3 separate regions of the Homo sapiens genome follow, and all the other regions are linked to region 2. Evidence: promoter capture Hi-C in 16 types of primary human blood cells and fetal thymus (Javierre and others, 2016). All regions are on one chromosome and are shown on one strand. Each heading gives the region's core, a stretch centred on a gene start or on the middle of the fragment in contact. The rest is flanking DNA. Distances are from core to core; before and after follow the strand shown. Region 1 overlaps SCIRT (stem cell inhibitory RNA transcript). Region 2 holds the start of VEGFA (vascular endothelial growth factor A). Region 3 has its middle 23 kb from the start of MRPL14.

Region 1 (2,716 bases), core at 34-2,533, 260 kb before region 2:
ATTCTTTCCAATTGATCTGTATGCAGGCACCAGTCCCACACTATTTTAATTATTGTAGCTGTATACTATTTTTGAAAAATGTTTTATAGTGCTACTCTTTCCTTGTTAGTTTACTTATTTTTCCTTCCAGGAATGTTCTATTCATTTATATTTATTTTTCCAGAGGAATTTGTATGTAATCATTTTGTCAAATTATCCCCCAAAAGCAGCTGATATTTTGTACAGAAGTATGCTGAATTTATAGTTTAATTATGGTGACACTGACATGCTTACAATATTACTGACTTTTTATCCAAGGAAAAGGTCTTTCTCCATCGATTCAAGTCTATGTGTATGTCCCTCATTTAGCTTTTACAGCTATTTCCATGTATCTGCACATTTTTTCTATGTGTTTTATGTTAGGTTTTTGTTAACCTTATTAATGGGATGTTTTTCCATATTCTTTTATTAGTTATTTCTTGTATTTAGGAAATCTTGTTTTTAAACTAGCCACTTTGATAAATTCCTGATATTACTAAAAGTTCTTTAGCTGATTCTCTTGGAATATCCAAGTATAGAGTAATATCATCCAATGATAATAACTGCTTTCTTTTTACAATATTTATACCTCTTATTTTATTTTTCATCTAACTGCATTGTCAAGTAATTGCAGAACAATATTAAATACTAATGGTGATAGTTTATGGGGAGAGCTGACGTCAACTTTAACGGGACTGCTTTTAGAGTCTCCCCATTAAACATGTTGGGAAAATTAATCTATTTTACATGCTAATATAGTAGGTTATGTTGAGTTTCCCAGAATTTGGCTTTCTTGTACTTCTGGAAAGAATCATACTTAGTCTTGACACATTCTTTTGTCAACACAACTTTCATCAATACTCCCTTCCTTAGCTCAGAACTTCCTCCGTCGTTCATCTTCCTCCCTTGGAAGCAGAGGCACAAAATCAGGGCTGGAGGTGTGAGGCGGGGGCATGGCCAGGGAAGAGCTGAGGCTCAGGACATAGCTGTTGGCCTCCTGTCCCGAAGGAATGAGGATCCACAAGAGCCTCCTTAAGGCTGACAGAGTATGTGGAGACGAGCAGGGGGTTGAGAAGCCCTGGGGGCTGGAGAGGACTGAACAGCAGGGGGCAGGGGTCCTTGGAAGAAAACCAGGACTCTTCTGCTTGCCCCCTGAGGAAGCCCTGCACCTCTGTCACCCTCAGGACTATCTTGAGCCCCAGTCTTTTGAGGGAGGCATGATCCAGAACTTTGGGCCTCTCCCAGGCTAGTGGACTCAATGCAGGCACAGGTGGCTACTCTTACACTAGGACAGGGAGGCTAAAGGAGAGCCCTGAAGGTGGCAGGAGGTCAGGAAGATGTCAGCCTGGCATGGCTATTTCTTAACATTTGCAGCATGCAGCCTTCATGCAGCAGCTTCTGAAAGCAGTGACCACGTCCTCCCCCCTATCTCCTCCAGCATCCCTAGGACTGTTCTTTGGTCCTAAACATATGAAGTCACCGCACCCTCCCTCCATTTCTTGAAGCAGTTTCGAAGTCCTCTGGCCATGACCCTTTCTTAGGAACCTGGCTGACTTCAGCATCACTCTTGGGTGAACATTGCTGTGCCCAGGGCTTGTTGGAGAGAGGAGAGGGTTAGAGGGAGGGAGGGAGGGGATTTTCCAGTGTCCCCTCTGTCCCCTCTGGGCAGGGATTGAAGTGGCAGAGGGTGTGGGCGATGTGCTGAGGCCAGGTAACCAGGAGACAAGAGAGCCCTTTAGATGTCCTCCCTGAGCTGCCCTTCCTTTCCTTACAACTGTCAGCTCTAGGAGCACAGAAGAGGAAATTCCTTGACCTAGAACCTTAGCATCTTCCAGGCCTACAAACCTTTAATTAATGCAGTCATTTAAGAGGAAGGAAGGTGGTTTTGTAACTGTGTTGTATACCTGAGTGAGTATAGACACATTCTCCGCTCTTTCATCAGGAGAGAAAATAGAGCATATAGACAGGTGTGGGGGTAAACTGAGTTTTAGGCAAAGTGAGAAGAGCATGGTCAGCCATTGACAGGAGGCCAGCAAGAGTGAGTGGTGGACACCCTGCTCTGGAGGCAGGGGACTGAACGACGTCTGGATGCTGACGAAGCTGTGAGCATTAAAGGGTTCTTGAATCTTTTCCTGCTACTTTTGGTGCATCCCAGTAGGGACAACTGAAGCCAACCCTATTTCCCAGCCATGGGAGACTGGGAATATAGTGGGAAGACTGGTCAGCAGGAAGGGTCTCCTGCCATCAGACTGGGGCTAAGGACAGAAGTACAGCTTCTGACAAGAAAGGCAAGAGCAAGGCGGGTCCCAGCCTTGGGGGATCCAGGACCCTGGGCAGGCACTAAAGGCAGGGACTTGGATAGAAAGAGGCAAGATGGGCCCTGGAGGTTGGATGTGCACACACAATGAGGGCTAGGCCTTCAGAATGAGGTGGGGTGCATGGCAGAATGAGGAGCCCTTTGGGCATTTGAGGCACAACCCAGGAGGGCTTTCCCTGGAGCCATCTTGCAAAATCATGGTGGATTCTTGACTTGTGTGGCTTCCTGTGGAAAAGTAGGTGCCACTGGTGGATCCTGTTAAGTGCCCTGGCATGAGTCTTACTCATTTCCAGTCTTCTCAATTTCTGCACCAGGCTCAGGCCTCCGGGGGAAGTTTCTAGTAAACGCATCCCAGATGTGCTGTATGAGGCTGAGCCAAGA
Region 2 (2,847 bases), core at 25-2,524:
GCGCGCGCGCCCCCTCCCCCTGCACCTAAGACGACAGAGGGGGACGCCGCACGCCTGGTGCCCATGGACCCGCGTGGGGCACGGAGCCCCCACGCGCGCGCTCGCACGCACGTCCCCAGCCGGGAGAGGCGCTCGCAGCGGCCCGCGGCGCCAGCAGGGCACGACCGCTTACCTTGGCATGGTGGAGGTAGAGCAGCAAGGCAAGGCTCCAATGCACCCAAGACAGCAGAAAGTTCATGGTTTCGGAGGCCCGACCGGGGCCGGCGCGGCTCGCGCTCCCTCTCCGGCTCGGGCTGTGGGGCGGCCCGCTCTCCTCGGCGCCTCGGCGAGCTACTCTTCCTCCCCGGCCCGAGGCCCGGGCCAGGGCCTGGGGAGCGCGCGCGGCTGGAGCACTGTCTGCGCACACCGCCGCCTCACCCGTCCATGAGCCCGGCTTCCGAGCGCCGAGTCGCCACTGCGGCCCCCTCTCCTCTTCCTTCTCTTCTTCCTCCTCCCCCTCCTCCGGCTGCGGCTCCTCCCGGCCCGAGCTAGCACTTCTCGCGGCTCCGCTCGGCTCGGCTTCCCCCGCGCGGACCACGGCTCCTCCGAAGCGAGAACAGCCCAGAAGTTGGACGAAAAGTTTCAGTGCGACGCCGCGAGCCCCGACCCCCTCCACCCCGCCTCCGGGCGCGGGCTCCGGCCCCTGCCCGCGGCTCGCCGCCGCGTCCACTGTCCGCCGCCGGCCGGGGAGGAGGTGGTAGCTGGGGCTGGGGGCGGTGTCTGTCTGTCTGTCCGTCAGCGCGACTGGTCAGCTGCGGGATCCCAAGGGGGAGGGCTCACGCCGCGCTCCGGCGGTCACCCCCAAAAGCAGGTCACTCACTTTGCCCCTGTCGCTTTCGCTGCTCGCACGCCCGCGCGCTCTCTCTGACCCCGTCTCTCTCTTCCTCGACTTCTCTCTGGAGCTCTTGCTACCTCTTTCCTCTTTCTGCTGGTTTCCAAAATCCACAGTGATTTGGGGAAGTAGAGCAATCTCCCCAAGCCGTCGGCCCGATTCAAGTGGGGAATGGCAAGCAAAAATAAATTAAAACGAGAAACAATACAGTTTTAAAAAAAAATGTTTAAGAAAAAAGAAGAGGGATAAAACCCGGATCAATGAATATCAAATTCCAGCACCGAGCGCCCTGGCCGGTGAGTCCGCTGACCGGTCCACCTAACCGCTGCGCCTCCCGACAGAGCGCTGGTGCTAGCCCCCAGCGCCACGACCTCCGAGCTACCCGGCTGCCCCAAGCCTCCGCGATCCTCCCCGCTACCAGCCGACTTTTAAAAAAAAAAGGGGGGGGCGCATGGCTCCGCCCCGCCGGGACCCCGCCCCCGGCCCGCCCCGGGGGGCGGGGACAGGCGAGCCTCAGCCCTTCCACACGCGGCTCGGGCCCGGGCTCTGCGGACGCTCAGTGAAGCCTGGCCCGCAGCCCGCCGCAATGAAGGGGAAGCTCGACCCCCACCAAGGTTCACAGCCTGAAAATTACCCATCCGCCCCCGGAAACTCTGTCCAGAGACACGCGCCCGCGGGGCATTGGCGAGGAGGGAGCAGGAAAGTGAGGTTACGTGCGGACAGGGCCTGAGAGCCGTTCCCTCTTTGCTAGGAATATTGAAGGGGGCAGGGGAAGGCGGAGAGCCGGACAGGGACGGGTGGGGAGAGGGACACACAGATCTATTGGAATCCTGGAGTGACCCCTGGCCTTCTCCCCGCTCCAACGCCCTCAACCCCACACGCACACACTCACTCACCCACACAGACACACACGTCCTCACTCTCGAAGACGCTGCTCGCTCCATTCACCCAGCTTCCCTGTGGTGGCCGAGCGCCCCCTAGTGACTGCCGTCTGCACACCCCGGCTCTGGCTAAAGAGGGAATGGGCTTTGGAAAGGGGGTGGGGGGAGTTTGCTCCTGGACCCCCTATTTCTGACCTCCCAAACAGCTACATATTTGGGACTGGAGTTGCTTCATGTACAGAGAGCCCAGGGCTGGGCACAGGGGCCACAGTGTGTCCCTCTGACAATGTGCCATCTGGAGCCCTCATCTGGCCTGCAGACATCAAAGTGAGCGGCAGCCAACAGGCTGGAGTGACTGGGGTCCTTTGGGAAGTGTCCAGGGATGCTTCCCAGGGGAGAAGAATTTGGCACCAAGTTTGTGGAGCTGAGAACGGGAAGCTGTGTGGTTCCGGGGTTAGTCAGTGACTGGGAGGGAAGAGGACCTGTTGGAGCCCACGTATGCACTGTGGAGTCTGGCAAAACCCAAAGGGGGAGGCAGCTGGGCAGACAGAGGCCCTTGTTCCTGCTGCCCCCCCAACCCCAGATGTTGCCAGGGAACTGAGGCCAGGGGGCTGGTGGGGGCGGGTGGAGGCCAGGGCCTGCGTGATGATTCAAACCTACCCGCCAGCACTAAGGAACGTCTGTAGGCCAGCTGCCCAGAGCTCCCACCAGGCCAGGGGCCAAGGCTTCTATCAGCCCAAGCCCAGACTCATAGCTCATCTTCTGAATAGAAATGGGGGTTTCGTCTCAGCTCCCCCATTCCCTCAGGATCCCTTGGCTACTTCTCCAGGCTCACAGCTTCTCCCCTATCCTTCCCCCAGTCCCCTCCCTTACCTCCAAGCCCCCTTTTCCTCCAACTCTCCACATCTTCCCTAAGTGCTCCCAAAGGCCCCATCCCATTCTTGCATATAGGAAGCAGCTTGGAAAAATTCCTAGCTGGTTTCTGACCTGGCTATTTCCAGGCTGCCCCAGGGAACAAAGTTGGGGCTCTGAGGCCTGTGGGAAGAGTGGGACCAGTCAGTCTGATTATCCACCCAGATCTTGCCAGGGTCTGGC
Region 3 (2,700 bases), core at 182-2,681, 330 kb before region 2:
TTCACATTTCAATCCAGGGCTCTGACCTGGTCTTGGCATGCTGCCAACTTCTTGCGACAATCTGGCTGCCCACCGAGGTAGAAACCACATCTCTTTCAGCCTTGGTCTGTGGCATATGGTAGTAGGAACAGACAAGAGAAACCAATTTATTGAGGGCTTGCTTTATGCCAGTTTTGTGCTGGACACTTTGCATATTCTCTTCCAAGTCTTCACAATGATGCCGTGTGATTATTGTATCTGATTTATGTGTGAGAAAACCCAGGCTGAGAAGAGTTAAGGGACTTGTAGTCAAGTGGCAGGCTGAGATTTGAAGTCAGGACCACCTGACCACATTTCTTCTGCTTTTTCTGCTGCACTGACCTGTGGTGGAAATATTTCTTGGTAATGTGCCTTCCCTCAGCTATTAAAATAGTTTTCCGGAAGCATCTGTTGGATGACCATTGTGGATACTTGTAGTTACTTCCAGTTGCCTCTTAGGTCAGCACCTTCCGGCCCAAGCTGAGGTCAGTGCTTCCTGCTGGAGGTTGGCTCCTGGCCTTATTTAACACCACTGTTTCCTGTCACTCCACAGCTTGGTCATCTACTCTGCCAAGGAAATGGGCCAGTCTTCATTCTCTGCACTTAGCCAACTGGGGGCTTCCTGGGTCTTGGCTCACCCTGGAGCTGTTAACACCCATTTTCAAGTGGGTTCCTAATGTTTGCTGAGTGAGTTATCAAGTGAAGAAAGAGTGTGGGTTCTTCCCCATCCCCACAAAGGGCCACCACTCACCTCCAGACCCAGTTCCTCATCTGGAAAACCCAAGCTAAGGAAGTCCCTTGCAGCCTGGCGGAGGAACTCTGCTCACTTGGTGCTCTCAACCTGGAGGCGGGGGTTTGTCCCACTTGGAGACCTCGACTTTGCTCATTGCTTCTCCAACCCTGTCGGTACTGTTGCTGCCTTTACACCGGCATAAGCCATGCTGACCCCACAGGTGAGCCTTGGCACATCTTTGGCCTGGAATGTTGTTTTCTCCTTGGAGAAGTGGTCGGTCTGTGGAACCCTGCTCAGGGTGTCTCATCAGTGAAGTTCTGTTCAATTGACATTGGTTGAGCCCTGGGTTGGACATCTTAATCTGTCCCTCGGGGTCCCTCTCACCCTTTTCCACCCTGCCCTGTGCCCCAGGAGGCTGACCTGTATGGACTGCATCAGCGGGCTCCCATTCCTGCAGGGCTGACCACACTCTTCAGTCATATGTCACAGCCCCTCAGGCAGTGCTCTACACTCTTGGGGCCTTGGCGTCAGGGCACTACAGCACCCACTGTACTGGTCCACACCTTTGTAAACAGTCCCTTTGTTAAATTCTCCTCACATTATCCCAATTCAAGTGGCCCCTTGTTGCCTGCTTGGACGCTGACTGATGCAAACATTTACTGTGTGTGCCCAGATGGGCAAAATATGGATCTTGCCCTGGAGAAGCTCTCAGAAGGGAGACAGATCCATGAGCAGTTTCTGCCTCCTGCAGCAGGTGACAGGAGCCCATGTGCTGTGGCAACACTGACCCAGGAGGGTCAGAAAGGCTTCCTGAGGAGATGCCCAGAGCCTGGAAGCTGGACAGTCAGAGTTAGTCAAGTGACAGGCTGAAGTGGGAATACCCTTTCATCCCAGCCAAAACCAGAGGTGTGATGCCGGGTGGGATGTGCCGGGACCTGCCAGCTGTTTGAGGTACCTAGAGGGTTGCAGTGGGGCTGAGGTAGCTGACGGGCCAGGCCAGGGAAGGCTACATAGGTTGCACTAGGTGCTGGGACTTTAACCCTGTCACTGCCCTGCTTTAACTGGCCAGTGGCTCCCCATCCCAGATGGACATTTATTAAGATCACTCAGCTGCTGTGCAAAGAACCCCTCTAAAAGGGTTGGTATGAAGGACCAGGAAGGGAGCAGGGAATTCAGTAAATTCAAGAGATGGCCAGGCGCGGTGGCTCACGCCTGTAATTCCTGCACTTTGGGAGGCCGAGGCGGGTAGATCATCTGAGGTCAGGAGTTTGAGACCAGTCTGGCCAGCGTGGCGAAACTATCTCTACCAAAAATACGAAAATTAGCTGGGCGTGGTGGCATGCACCTGTAATCCCGGCTACTCGGGAGGCTGACACAGGAGAATCGCTTAAACCCGGGAGGCGGAGGTTGAGTGAGCTGAGATCGTGCCACTGCACTCCAGCCTGGGTGACAGAGCAAGACTTCGTCTCAAAAAAAAAAAAAAAAAAAGGAAAACAAAACAAAACAACATAATACTCTGGTAAGGCAAGGCAGGGATGGAGGACAGGAGTTAAGAAAGATTTGAGGGAAAATAGCTATTTAGTAGGTAGAAGTAGCTTGGCATAGAGAAAGGACCATGCTGGGAAACAGGGCAGGGAGTTCAGAAATTCAAGTTAGCACTATCAAATTATCTTGGGATAGGTTATTGAGAGGTGGGCTTTGTATTCAGAGGAACTTCATAGTGAAGGAGAATGGGGTAGGGGGTTGGGGGTGAGCACAGGGCAAGCTGCAGGCTGTTCCTGTGGAGGGGAGCTGGGCCAGCTCAGCTGCTGACTGGTGGAGGCCTGGGCTGAGGCAGGGAGGGGAGATGCCTGCAGCAGCCAATGCACAGCTGGGGGTCTGGTGAGACTGTGTGTGATCTGGGCTACAGGGCTTTCTCTCCTGCTGGCCTGTGCTGCCTCTCGCCCTGC

Evidence for each region. Contacts are between HindIII fragments. The CHiCAGO score rates a contact against its expected background, and 5 or more counts as called.
Region 1: a contact is called between a fragment that was not itself captured here and the fragment with the promoter of VEGFA in region 2, in 10 of 17 cell types (erythroblasts, endothelial precursors, total CD8 T cells and 7 more). The highest score is 10.6, in erythroblasts.
Region 3: a fragment that was not itself captured here is called in contact with the fragment with the promoter of VEGFA in region 2 in 3 of 17 cell types (fetal thymus, endothelial precursors and erythroblasts); the score reaches 6.1 in fetal thymus.

What each region holds. Positions count from the first base shown.
Region 1 is chr6:44,029,617-44,032,332 of GRCh38, reverse strand. The region is part of intron 1 of SCIRT (stem cell inhibitory RNA transcript); the gene reads left to right. Among named protein-coding and RNA genes, the nearest start is that of LINC03040, 30 kb to the right of the region's middle. The HindIII fragment of the contact is 6,000 bases long and covers 1-2,716 here.
Region 2 is chr6:43,768,638-43,771,484 of GRCh38, reverse strand. VEGFA (vascular endothelial growth factor A) reads right to left here and starts at 1,274. Exons shown (of 8, transcript NM_003376.6): 1 at 173-1,274. The coding sequence starts at 778. RefSeq lists enhancers at 1-83, 84-849 and silencers at 1-834, 1,212-1,461. The HindIII fragment of the contact is 11,673 bases long and covers 1-2,847 here.
Region 3 is chr6:44,102,648-44,105,347 of GRCh38, reverse strand. No RefSeq gene overlaps it. Among named protein-coding and RNA genes, the nearest start is that of MRPL14, 23 kb to the left of the region's middle. RefSeq lists enhancers at 784-953, 2,056-2,604, 2,605-2,700. The HindIII fragment of the contact is 3,964 bases long and covers 1-2,700 here.